5 separate regions of the Homo sapiens genome follow, and regions 2, 3, 4 and 5 are each linked to region 1. Evidence: promoter capture Hi-C in 16 types of primary human blood cells and fetal thymus (Javierre and others, 2016). All regions are on one chromosome and are shown on one strand. Each heading gives the region's core, a stretch centred on a gene start or on the middle of the fragment in contact. The rest is flanking DNA. Distances are from core to core; before and after follow the strand shown.

Region 1 (2,557 bases), core at 19-2,518:
GACACAGGTGAAAAATGCAGCAGAAAATCAGTTCCCCGTGGAGTGTGAAAATAATTAAGAGACAGGCAATTCCACTGAGGTGTCTCTAGTCCCTGGGTTCCTACTTAAAAAAAAAAAAAATCTAACTCAGGTGCATTTTTTTTTTAATTACTACATTCAGAGAAAATGTAGGCTTAAACAACTATAAACTGTTAATTAACCTCTGATTACACAACCAGGAAATCTTCACCTGTATTGTACAAATCAAGAAACTACGTTACTGTAACCAATTACTAAATTTAGTTTTCTTCATCATACATTTTATAAATGACTTTCCTTCAAGCCTCTCCCATAGACAACAAACTACAAACCATAGCTGGATACTCTATGATTCTTGAATCACTGTTTGATTAAATTCTTTAGGCCAGGCGCGGTGGCTCACGCCTGTAATCCCAGCACTTTAGGAGGCCAAGGCGGGCGGATCACGAGGTCAGGAGTTCAAGACCAGCCTGGCCAACGAGGTGAAACCCCGTCCCAACTAAAAATACAAAAAAATAAGGCCGGCCCAGTGACAGGCGCCTGTAATCCCAGTTACTCGGGAGGCTGAGCCAGGAGAATCTCCAGAACCCGGGAGGCGGAGGTTGCAGTGAGGGGAGATCGCGCCACTAAACCCTAGCCTGGGCGACAGAGCGACTCCGTCTCAAACAAACAAAAAAATCGTTAATATTTGTGCAGTGACTCCCATACATTTTTAATAGGAGAAAAGAGGAACTGGGAAAGCCACGGACCAAAGATCTTCCCATTCATGAACCCGCACCCCGAGTCAGGATTTTCCCCTGACGACCCTCCCGTGGTCCCTGCACAATCTGAGAGAGACGCGGCGCTGCGGGTGCAGAGCTGCCAAGAGAGGGCTCCAGGCCAAGGCACAGTCACTACGCAGGGAAGAGAAAGGACGCCTGGGGTCCTGGCTGTCAGCGCAGCCGCCATCTTATGGCCGAAGGGGACGGAGGCCGAGCTGGGCAAGGCGCAGATTGTGAAGCTGACTGCGGAGAGGCCTGAGTCCCGCCACAGCTACTTCCCACCAGTTCCAACCAGCCCTTTCGCCGTCTCTCGGGATGTCGGACCGGGCACTCTCACCATTTCTAGGCTTCTAGGGGGTCCTGGCGTCTTAGCTGTGGATCTCCCAATATCTGCAGGTCAGAGGGCCACACAGGCTAGGCCCCTAGGAGCAGAAGACACAGAGAAGTGAGAGCAAAACCTGGAGCTCCGGCTACAGCGAGAGACAAAGACCCCGCCAAACCCGGAAGCCGTCCAGTCCGCTCCAGCTGCATGCCTGATTGGACGGTTTCCAGCCCAGCGTCCCTGGTTGGATAATGCTTAAATCCCCGCCCTGTCAGGCTTTGAGTGACAGAAGATGTGATCAGATGCGGGTTCAATGAAGAAAGAGTGACAGCCTAGACTGCCCCCTCTTCTGACAGGGCTTCCTCCCTCAGCTGAGCTAGGCCCATCCCAGAGAGTATTTGCCTTTAAATTTGTGTATAAGGTCATATGTATAAATAAATAATACATTATATAGCTATACACAAGTGAAAAGAATATAACAATTATTTTAAAATTTCAGCTTTTATGACCTTCCTGGCTTCTGGCCCTTTGAGCAGGCAGCCTGAGATTTTAGAAAAGAGAAAATCATCTAAAATGAATGTCAGCCACATGTGGATTTGAAATTTTCTAGTAGCCAAACTTTAAAAAGAAACAAGTTGAACTGATTGTTAACAATGTAATTCACCCATTATATTCAAAATATTATCATTTTAATGTGTGAGAAATATGTAATTATTGATAAAATATATAAATATTTGGAACTAAATCTTTGAAGCTGACTTTGTATTTTACCTTTCTAGCATATCGCATTTCAGACCAGGCACATTGTGGGAACCCAGTAGCCACACATGGACAATAGCTGTCACATTGAAGTGCAGCTCTGATGTCAGCGGTGTGAAGGGCCTGAACATCTCTTTCCTGCGAGAGTGAAAGAAGAGACTCTCCCTACAAACATCTCTCTTTGGTTCCTAGGGTGGACCAGATAGTTCCCATAGAAAGAGCTGAGGGCAGTAGGAATAAAATAGCCACAGGTAATAAACAACTGCTGGCCACCTGTTGCCCACCTTTCTTTTAGAGACCAGATAGTGAACAAAGGATGATGGGGCCACAGGAGAAAAAACAACTATGTCTTCAGTTCTGTCCACACACTTGAACTCCAGTATTTAGAGATGGAGAAAATAGATTAAAAACAAACATAGTTTGCTATATGGTCTTGGCCCTAACAATCAGGCTGTGTTTATCTGTTTTCTCCTGTGGTGTGGGGGACTATGTGAGTCTAAGCACCAATCACACGCATACATGTCTACAGGTATTTCTGCATTACCCAAAATTCTCTTACAAAACATCGAACTTTAAATCAGGGGAAGAAATCAGTACCTAGAGGGTGTCCACTGTTAGAAGCCAACTCTTAGTCAACCTGTCACTGAATCCTGGCAACTTATCTGTACTGGGTGCATGTATTAGTTAGCTATTGAGG
Region 2 (2,557 bases), core at 21-2,520, 840 kb before region 1:
AGCCGGGCGTGGTAGTGCATGCCTGTAATCCCAGCTACTCGGGAGGCTGAGGTAGGAGAATTGCTTGAACCCAGGAGGCAGAGGTTGCAGTGAGCCAAGACCACACCATTGCGCTTTAGCCTGGGCAACAAGAGTGAAACTCCATCTCAAAAAAAAGAAATGCCGAAATACATGTGGACATGTATGCATGTGATTGTGCTTATATTCACTCAGTTTCCCACACCACAGAAGAAAACAGGTAACCACAGCCTGAACATTAGAGTCGAGGTCAAATAGCAAAATAAGTTTGCCTTTAATCTATTTTCTTCCTATGTAAACATTAAAGGTCAAGACTGTGAACAGATCTGAAGACATAGTTTTTTTTCTCCTGTGGCCCATCATCCTTTGCTCACTGTCTGATCTCTGAAAGAAAGATGGGCAACAGGTGGTAAGCAGTGGTTTACCTGTGATTTATTCCTGCTGCCATCAGCTTTTTCTATAGCCACTATTTGTTTCACCCTCGGAACTGAAAAGAGACGTTGATAAATAGAGGCTGTCCCCTCACCTGTGGCAGAAAAGGGGTGTTCAGGCCCTCCACCCCCACTGACATCACAGCTGTACTTCAATGTGGCAGCTATTGGCCATGTGTGGCTCCTGGGTGCCTGGAATGTGGCTGGTCTGAACTGCGATGTGCTAGAAAGGTAAAATACAGAATTAGTTTCAAAGATTTTGTTTCAAATGTATTTATATTTCATTAATAATTACATATTGCTCACATATTAAAATGAAAATATTTTGAATATATTGGGTTAAATAAATTGCTACAATCAATTCCACTTGTTTCTTCTTTCTTTTTAAAGTTTGGCTACTAGAAAATTTAAAATTCACCTGTGACTCACATTTTATTTCAGAGGATTGCCTGTTCAAAGGACCAGAATACAGGAAGGTCATAAAATCTAAAATTTTAGAACAATTGTTGTTATACTTTGTTCATTTGTGAATAGCCATATAATATATTATTTTTGAATGCATATAAATTGATACACAAGGTAAGGGCAAATACTCTCTGGTGTGAGCCTGGCTCAGCTCAGGAAGGAAGCCCTGTCTGAAAAGGCTGCAGCCTAGGCTGTCACTCGCTCTTCTTTCAGCCCAGCATCTGATCACATCTTCTGTCACTCAGGGCCTGAAAAGAAGGTGCCTTAAATATCATCCAATCAGAGACGCTGGGCTGGGAACCGTCCAATCAGGAACGCAGCTGGTGCGGATAGGGCGGCTTCCGGGATGTGGCGGGGCCTTTGTCTCTCGCTGCAGCCTGAGCTCTAGGTCTTGTTTTCCCTGCTTTGTGTTTTCTGCTCGTGGACGCCCAGCCTCTGTGGCCCTGTGGCCTGCAGGTATTGGGAGATCCACAGCTAAGACGCCGGGACCCCCTGGAAGCCTAGAAATGGTGAGAGTGCCAGGTCCGCCATCCCGAGGGGGAAAGGGGTTGGTTGAAACCGGTGGGAAGCGGCTGTGGCGGGACTCAGGCCTCCCTGTAGTCAGCTCCACAATCTGCGCTCCAGTTCTTTTTGCCCAGCTCGGCCCCAGTTCCTCCAGCCATAAGATGGCGGCTGCGCTGACAGCCGGCCCGGGCGTCCTGTCTCTTCCCTGCGCAGTGACTGTGCCCTGGACTGGAGCCCTCTCTGGGCAGCTCTGCATTCGCAGCACCGCGTCTCTCCCAGATTGAGCAGGGACCACGGGAGGGTTGTCAGGGGAGAATCCTGACTCGGGGTGCGGGTTCATGAAAGAGCTTTGGGCTGTGGGGTTCCCAGTTCCTCTTTTTTTCTGTTAAAAATGTATGGGGGGACGGGCGTGGTGGCTCACGCCTGTAATTTCAGCACTTTGGGAAGCCGAGGCGGGCGGATCATCTGAGGTCAGGAGTTCAAGACCATCCTGGCCAACATGGTGAAACCCCGTCTCAATTTTTAAAAATACAAAAATTAGCCGGGCGTCGTGGCGCGCGCCTGCAATCCCAGCTACTCAGGAGTTTGAGGCAGGAGAATCGCTTGAACCCGGGAGGCGGAGGTTGCAGTGAGCCTACATCGCGCCACTGCACTCCAGCCTGGGCAATAAGAGTGAAACTCCGTCTCAAAAAAAAAAAAAAAAGATGTATAGGAGTCACCGCAAAAATATTAAAGAACTTAAAAAGTGGTTCAAGTATTGTAGAGCACTCAGCTATGGTTTGTAGTTTGTGGTCCATGGGAGGAGCTTGAATAAAAGACTTTTATAAGGTGCATGATAAAAAAATCAAATTAGTAATTGGTTAGGTACAGTTATATAGTCTCTTAATTTGTACGATCGTGTTGGCAATTTTCTGGTTATGTGATCAGAATTTAATTGGCAGTTTATAGTTGGTTAAGCCTGAATTTTGTTTTCCCCGATGTGGTAATTTACTAAAAAATGAAATTTTAGTTAGATTTTTTTAAAAAGGAGGACCCCAGGGACTAGAGCCACCTCAGTCTAATTGCCTGCCACTGAATCATTTTCACAGTCCACAGGGGACTTCTTTTCCCCTGCATTTTTCACATATGTCTCAAGCAGG
Region 3 (2,557 bases), core at 23-2,522, 720 kb before region 1:
GTGTCAACCAGTGGAGCCTGCAGAATAGCAGAGAGGACTGCTTGCTCCTTCCTCTGGGGTCTTTGTCCCAGAAGGGGAATGATCTGATGACAGTGGGAACACTACTTTATAAGTTGTCTGACGATGTCTGTTGTGGGGGTCTCACCCAGTCAGGATGCATGAGATCTGGGAACCACTTAAGAAAGCACTCTGGCTGCACCTTGGTGGAGTGGCTGTGCTGCACTGAGGGAAATTCCATACATCTGTACTGCCTGGATTGCTCAGAGCCAGCAGGGGGAAAGACTAAGTCTGCTGATCTGCAGAAACCACCTCATTGTTCCTGTTTTATGTATTTCTTGTAGATAAGTTTTTTCTCATTTCCTGTTTTACTACCTTTATTTTTGTTAACTTTATCGTTACATGCTTTGATTATTTTTTCATTTTTTGCATACTTTTTATAAATATTATGTAATCACCTTGAAGTATAATGTAATCATCTTAAAATGGAGATTACATAAAACATCTTTTTTTTTTTTTTTTTTTTTTTTTTTTTTTTAGTATTTATTGATCATTCCTGGGTGTTTCTCGCAGAGGGGGATTTGGCAGGGTCATAGGACAATAGTGGAGGGAAGGTAAGCAGATAAACAAGTGAACAAGGGTCTCTGGTTTTCCTAGGCAGAGGACCCTGCGGCCTTCCGCAGTGTTTGTGTCCCTGGGTACTTGAGATTAGGGAGTGGTGATGACTCTTAACGAGCATGCTGCCTTCAAGCATCTGTTTAACAAAGCACATCTTGCACCGCCCTTAATCCATTTAACCCTGAGTGGACACAGTACATGTTTTAGAGAGCATGGGGTTGGGGGTAAGGTTATAGATTAACAGCATCCCAAGGCAGAAGAATTTTTCTTAGTACAGAACAAAATGGAGTCTCCTATGTCTACTTCTTTCTACACAGACACAGCAACAATCTGATTTCTCTATCTTTTCCCCACATTCCCCCCTTTTCTATTCGACAAAACCGCCATCGTCATCATGGCCCGTTCTCAATGAGCTGTTGGGTACACCTCCCAGACGGGGTGGCGGCTGGGCAGAGGGGCTCCTCACTTCCCAGAAGGGGCGGCCGGGCAGAGGCGCCCCCCACCTCCCGGACGGGGCGGCTGGCCGGGCGGGTGCTGGCCCCAACCTCCCTCCTGGACGGGGTGGCTGGCCGGGCAGGGGCTGCCCCCCACCTCCCTCCCAGATGGGGCATAAAATATCTTAAAGTTAAAAAAATAAGGCCAAGCATGGTGGCTCACACCTGTAATCCCAACACTTTGGGAGGCTGAGATGGATAGATCACCTGAGGTCAGGAGTTTGAGACCAGCCTGGCCAACATGGTGAAACTGTCTCTACTAAAAATACAAAAATTAGGTATGTGGTGGAGGACATCTGAGACTGAGGCAGGATAATCACTTGAACCCAGATGACAGAGGTTGCAGTGAGCCGAGATTGCGCCACTGCACTCCAGCCTGGGTGACAGAGCAAGACTCCATCTCAAAAAAAAAAAAAAAAAAAAAAAAGTAAAAAAGATATATTTTAACTTCTTAAACTTTAATTAAATACAAAACCTATACTGCTATGTTTTCCAGTTTGTTATTGATACTACAAATTATATTATGTATCTATTAACAGATTTATATCTTGTATTTTTATATCTACAGAACTTTAACGGTTTTATGCACCATTATGATAGTAAAAAATTCTATATGTATCTGTATATTTATATTTAATAGGGAGCTTTATATATGGTTTTATGATGCTGTCTAGCATCATTTTATTTTTCAACAAAATGGATTCATTTTAGCATTTCTATTTGTTTATATGCAGAGTCTGTGTTTCTCAGACTGGATCTTGGACTCCTGGTCTCAAGAGATCTGACTGCCTTGGCTTCCTAAAGCTGTAGAATTACAGGCATGAGCCACTATGTCTGGCCACCATGTAACATTTCTTGTTACATTTCGTGCAACATTTCTTGTTACGTTTCCTGCAACATTTCTTGTTACATTTCGTGCAACATTTCTTGTTACATTTCGTGTAACATTTCTTGTTACATTTCGTGTAACATTTCTTATAGTGAACACCCTGAAATTTAATTTAGGAAAGTCTGTATTTTTATTTTGTTTTTCAAGTAAAATAACTTTGAATTAAATATTATTGGTTAGAATTTTTTATTACATCAAAATTTGGGAAGTTCTCAGCTTTCGTTTTCTTTAATTTACCTCTGTATTACTTTTTCCCTACATTATTCTTCTCTTTTTTTTTTTTGAGACAGAGTCTCTCTCTGTCACCCAGGCTGGAGTGCGGTGGCTCGATCTCAGCCTCAGCCTCCCGAGTAGCTGGGACCACAGGCGCCCACCACCACACCTGGCTAATTTTTTGTATTTTTTCAGTAGAGGCAGGGTTTCACCGTCTTAGCCAGGACGGTCTCGATCTCCTGACTGTGTGATCCGCCTGCCTCGGCCTCCCAAAGTGCTGGGATTACAGGCATGAGCCACTGTGCCCAGCCCCCCTATATTCTTCTAAGATTTATTTCATGAATAT
Region 4 (2,557 bases), core at 20-2,519, 690 kb before region 1:
AAAAAAATTTCCCTATCCTTTTTTCTTTTTTATTTATTTAAAGTTTTTTGTGTATCAGTGTAAATGCATGGGTATTTATTTATTTGACTTGATTTATTTTATAGGTCAGTGCTCTAATTATTCATTTGGATGCTAACATTGTTCCAGGATGGACCATTGGGAGTTCTTTCAGGCTGGCTCCCTTTGACATGTTCCCATCATTTTTTAAAATTAAAAAAAAAGAAAGAAAAAACATTTTGAGGCTGGGTGCGGTGGCTCACGCCTGTAATCCCAACACTTTGGGAGGCCAAAGCGGGCAGATCACCTGAGGTCAGGAGTTCAGGACCAGCCTGGCCAACATGGTGAAACCCCGTGTCTACTAAAAATACAAAAAATTAGCCGAGCATGGTGGCGCGCGCCTGTGATCTCATCCAGCAGTGCTTTACTTGTAATTATTTTATTCCTGCTGCCGTCTCCTCTTTCTTTGGCCACTATCTGTTCCACCCCCGGAACGGAAGAGAGATGTTGGTAGGGAGAGGCTCTTCCTTCACCTCTGGCAGAAAAGGTTTGCTTGGGCCCTTCACACCGCTGACATCAGAGCTGCACTTCAATGTGGCAGTTATTGGCCATGTGTGGCGCCTGGTCTGAAGTGCGATGCTAGAAAGGTAAAATACAGAGTTAGTTTCAAAGATTTAGTTCCAAATATTTATATACTTTATTAATAATTACATATTTCTCACACATTAAAATGAAAATTTTTTTGATATATTGGGTTAATTAAATTGTTACAATCAATTCAACCTGTTCTTGTTTCTTTTTCAAGTTTGGCTACTAGAAAACTTAAAATTCACATATGGCTCACATTTTATTTCAGAGGATTACCTCCTTTCTAAAATCTCAGCCTGCCTGCTCAAAGACCAGAAAGAAGCCAGGAAGGTCATAAAATCTGAAATTTTAAAATAATTGTTATTATAAAATTATATTTTTTCCTTTGTGAAGAGCCATATATTATTTATAAATGCATATGACTTTACACACAAGTTTAAAGGCAAATTCCCTCTGGGGTGGGCCTGGCTCAGCTCTGGGAGGAAGCCCTGCCTGAGAAGGCTGCAGCCTAGGCTGTCACCCTTTCTTCACTCAGCCCAGCAACTGATCACATCTTCTGTCACTCAGGGCACGAGAAGGTGGGGTTTTAAAAGTTATCCAATCAGCGACGCTGGGTTGGGAACCGTCCAATCAGGCCTGCAGCTGGAGCGGACAGGACGGCTTCGGGGATGTGGCGGGGCCTTTGTCTCTCGCTGCAGCTGGAGCTGCAGGTCTCGCCTTCACTGCCCTGTGTCCTCTGCTCGCAGAGGCCCAGCCTCTGTGGCCCTGTGACCTGCAGGTATTGAGAGATCCACAGCTAAGACGCCAGGTACCCCGGAAGCCTAGAAATGGTGAGAGTGCCGGGTCCGACATCCCGAGAGAGGGGAAGGGGCGGGTTGTAAGCGGTGGGAAGTGGCTGTGGTGGGACTTAGGCCTCCCCGCAGTCAACTCTACAATCTGCGCCCGGAGTTCTCCTTGCTCAGCTCGGCCTCAGTCCCCTTCAGCCATAAGATGGCGGCTGCGCTGACTGCGGGATCCCGGGCGTCCTGTCTTTTCCCTGCGCAGTGACTGGGCCCTGACCTGGAGTCCTCTCAGGGCAGCTCTGGACCCTCAGCGGCGCGTCTCTCCCGGATTGTGCAGGGACCACTGGAGGGTCCCAGGGGTAGAATCCTGACTCGGGGTGCGGGTTTATGAATGGGTCCGTGGGGTTCCAGTTCCTCTTCTGTTGAAAATGTATGGGAGTCACCGTTAAAACACTAAAGCATTTAATCAAAGCGTGATTCAAAAATTGTGGAGCACCCAGCTGTGGTTTGTAATTTATGGTTTATGGGCGGGGCTTGAAGTAAAGACTTTTATAAACAGCATGATGAAGAAAACCAAATTCAGTAATTGGTTAGGTTCAGATACATAGTTTCTTAATTTGTAAAATAAAGGTGAAAATTTCCTGGTTATGTAATTAGATGTTAATTGGCAGTTTATAGTTGGTTAAGGATGAATTTTGTTTCTCTCAATGTAGTAATTTACTAAAAATGCACCTCAGTTAGATTTTTTTTTTTTAAGATGGAGTTTCGCTCTTGTTGCCCAGGCTGGAGTGCAATGGGGCGATCTTGTCTCACCGTAACCTCTGCCTCCCGGGTTCAAGCGATCCAATGCTTCAGCCTCCCAGGTAGCTGGGATTACAGGCATGCGCCACCACGCCCGTCTAATTTTGTGGTTTTAGTAGAGACGGGTTTCTGCATGTTGGTCAGGCTGGTCTCGAACTCCCGACCTCAGGTGATCTGCCCTCCACGGCCTCCCCAAAGTGCTGGGATTACAGGCGTGAGCCACCGCGCCCAGCCAGATTTTTTTAAAAGTAGGAATCCAGGGACTAGAGACACCTCAGTCTAATTTCCCGCCGCTTAATTATTTTCACACTCCATGGGGAACTGATTTTCTGGTGCATTTTTCAACTGTGTCCCAAGCACTGTCTTAAATCTAACCTCCCGTCCCCCAT
Region 5 (2,557 bases), core at 26-2,525, 550 kb before region 1:
GGGCTCCTCACTTCTCAGACGGGGTGGCTGCCGGGCGGAGGGGCTCCTCACTTCTCAGATGGGGCGGCTGCCAGGCGGAGGGGCTCCTCACTTCTCAGATGGGGCAGCCGGGCAGAGACGATCCTCACCTCCCAGATGGGGTGGCGGTCAGGCAGAGACACTCCTCAGTTCCCAGATGGGGTCGCGGTCAGGCAGAGGCGCTCCTCACATCCCAGATGGGGCGGCAGGGCAGAGGTGCTCCCCACATCTCAGACGATGGGCGGCCGGGCAGAGACACTCCTCACTTCCTAGACGGGATGGCGGCCGGGAAGAGGCGCTCCTCACTTCCCAGACTGGGCAGCCGGTCAGAGGGGCTCCTCACATCCCAGACGATGGGTGGCCAGGCAGAGATGCTCCTCACTTCCCAGACGGGGTGGTGGCCGGGCAGAGGCTGCAATCTCAGCACATTGGGAGGCCAAGGCAGGCGGCTGGGAGGTGGAGGTTGTAGCGAGCCGAGATCACGCCACTGCACTCCAGCCTGGGCAACATTGAGCACTGAGGGAGTGAGACTCCGTCTGCAATCCTGGCACCTCGGGAGGCCGAGGCAGGCAGATCACTCGCGGTCAGGAGCTGGAGACCAGCCCGGCCAACACAGCGAAACCCCATCTCCACCAAAAAATGCAAAAACCAGTCAGGCGTGGCGGCGCGCGCCTGCAATCCCAGGCACTCGGCAGGCTGAGGCAGGAGAATCAGGCAGGGAGGTTGCAGTGAGCCGAGATGGCGGCAGTACAGTCCAGCCTCGGCTTTCACAACTTTGGTGGCATCAGAGGGAGACCGGGGAGAGGGAGACGAGGGAGAGGGAGACGAGGGAGAGGGACTAATATCACTATTTTCTGATGTCTATATTTTTTTAGAACTTTTTTATTTTTACAAATGTCTCCACAAATTCTAGGATATTTTATAAAATAGCAGAATACTAAAGAAATGGGTGGTTTGCCATACTATATGAATACTGGTATTCAATTAAAATAACAATATTTTCATCAAAATTTAGACAGTAGATTTAAATTTCTTGATTTTTCACTACAGTGATAGACATTCATAAATATTTCAGAAATCAGAGCTGTATTAGGTTTTACTTAGTAGTAATATGTATAAAAGATCAAGAATCTGTTCAAAATAGATATTTCTCATCAATAATTTGATGCTTTCAAATACCCAGAAGTTTTGTTTTAATCAGATGAAGTCTGAGGATAGTTTACTAGTTTTATTTTTTGTATGATGTGTTCACAATTTTCTAATTTAACCTAATATTGATAATGGTATACAAATCAACTTTTTTTTCAAATCTCATAAGTCTATTTATTATGTTGTTGAAGATATTTTTAGTTAACATTCCTTCTTTCAGTATTTTTTACAGGAATTTACATCTAGTCAAATTTGCTTAAACTGTTAATCAGTGTCAGGTGCCAGATTCCAATTCATTTTTAGTGTGCCTGTACTTTTCTTTCTATAACCTCTGAACTAAATTTATATTGCTTAATTAAATGTGATATAATACAACTCACATATTTAAAACAAAACCACCAGGTAAAATGAATTCTGGCTTAGTATAAAGAAGCTGTTACCAAATTAGTGTCACATATACAGATGGATGTGGCTCAACAAAATTTTACACAAAAATATTTGGATTGAACTACACGTGTTGCCATGACTTAGCCTCTAATGACCTTATAAATAAAGACAAATTAATACACATTTATTCATTTTCTTTCATTGTGTCTAAAGGTAGCATGTCAGGAAATCTCATGCTACTGTCTGAAAAAACACATTCTACTGTTACCTAAGAAATCAACTGGATGGCATTTTTATAACCTTGCACCACATAAGGAAAAACTGCAATGTAGTCTGATAAATGCAGACTCCATCACATGGAAAAGGATAATCCAGAATGCCACTTTCAATACTTAAGTATTCAACCTTTTGGTTGAAAAATGTAGTAAAATAGAGCTCTTGGTAAGTTTTGTGTAGCTTAACATCAGCATAAATTAGGAAAAAATATCTTTTAAAATGTAAACAAACAAAAACCTACACCAAAAACAAAAACATTCACCAATGCATACATATTGACTGACGCTCCAGGGACATAAAATAATTTTTCCTGGGTACACAGCTAGTGACCCAAATCAAGCTCAAATGTGTGATTTTAAAAATTTCATTTTCCCACTTTTGACAATATTGACATAACAGCGAAATCTTACTCTCAGAGTTGATAGTTGAAAATAAACTAAGACAAGTACTGTTGAGGGAGGCTAGGTAGCCAAGAAGGTCACCATGTCCTTGGGACATGCAGCAGGCATGGCGATTGCATAGTGACAGCATATTGGCAACACAATAAGCCCCAACATTTGCATTGTATTTCAGCTCACTGAAGCACAGCTCTCTTCAGTAGGGAAGAGAGTTCTTTACTCCCCTGTAAAGAACATGCACATTTTGATTTTACTTGTCCTCTGACCTTTTACTCATTATAATAGTAAAAAACACACAAGTGAGTGGAGATTAAAGATGCTAATAAGAT

What was found. Contacts are between HindIII fragments. The CHiCAGO score rates a contact against its expected background, and 5 or more counts as called.
Region 2: a contact is called between the fragment with the promoter of ZNF85 here and the fragment with the promoter of ZNF100 in region 1, in 1 of 17 cell types (fetal thymus). The highest score is 5.3, in fetal thymus.
Region 3: a contact is called between a fragment that was not itself captured here and the fragment with the promoter of ZNF100 in region 1, in 1 of 17 cell types (monocytes). The highest score is 5.0, in monocytes.
Region 4: a contact is called between the fragment with the promoter of ZNF714 here and the fragment with the promoter of ZNF100 in region 1, in 3 of 17 cell types (neutrophils, total CD8 T cells and fetal thymus). The highest score is 9.3, in neutrophils.
Region 5: a contact is called between a fragment that was not itself captured here and the fragment with the promoter of ZNF100 in region 1, in 1 of 17 cell types (neutrophils). The highest score is 6.2, in neutrophils.

The regions. Positions count from the first base shown.
Region 1 is chr19:21,766,311-21,768,867 of GRCh38, forward strand. It overlaps ZNF100 (zinc finger protein 100), which reads right to left and starts at 1,269. Exons shown (of 5, transcript NM_173531.4): 1 at 1,117-1,269. The coding sequence starts at 1,119. RefSeq lists a silencer at 1,256-1,433. The HindIII fragment of the contact is 10,466 bases long and covers 1-2,557 here.
Region 2 is chr19:20,921,981-20,924,537 of GRCh38, forward strand. ZNF85 (zinc finger protein 85) reads left to right here and starts at 1,271. Exons shown (of 4, transcript NM_003429.5): 1 at 1,271-1,423. The coding sequence starts at 1,421. The HindIII fragment of the contact is 9,960 bases long and covers 1-2,557 here.
Region 3 is chr19:21,047,662-21,050,218 of GRCh38, forward strand. The region is part of intron 4 of ZNF430 (zinc finger protein 430); the gene reads left to right. Among named protein-coding and RNA genes, the nearest start is that of ZNF430, 28 kb to the left of the region's middle. The HindIII fragment of the contact is 4,673 bases long and covers 1-2,557 here.
Region 4 is chr19:21,080,934-21,083,490 of GRCh38, forward strand. ZNF714 (zinc finger protein 714) reads left to right here and starts at 1,270. Exons shown (of 5, transcript NM_182515.4): 1 at 1,270-1,415. RefSeq lists an enhancer at 1,609-1,758. The HindIII fragment of the contact is 3,534 bases long and covers 1-2,557 here.
Region 5 is chr19:21,212,625-21,215,181 of GRCh38, forward strand. No RefSeq gene overlaps it. Among named protein-coding and RNA genes, the nearest start is that of ZNF431, 72 kb to the left of the region's middle. The HindIII fragment of the contact is 5,121 bases long and covers 1-2,557 here.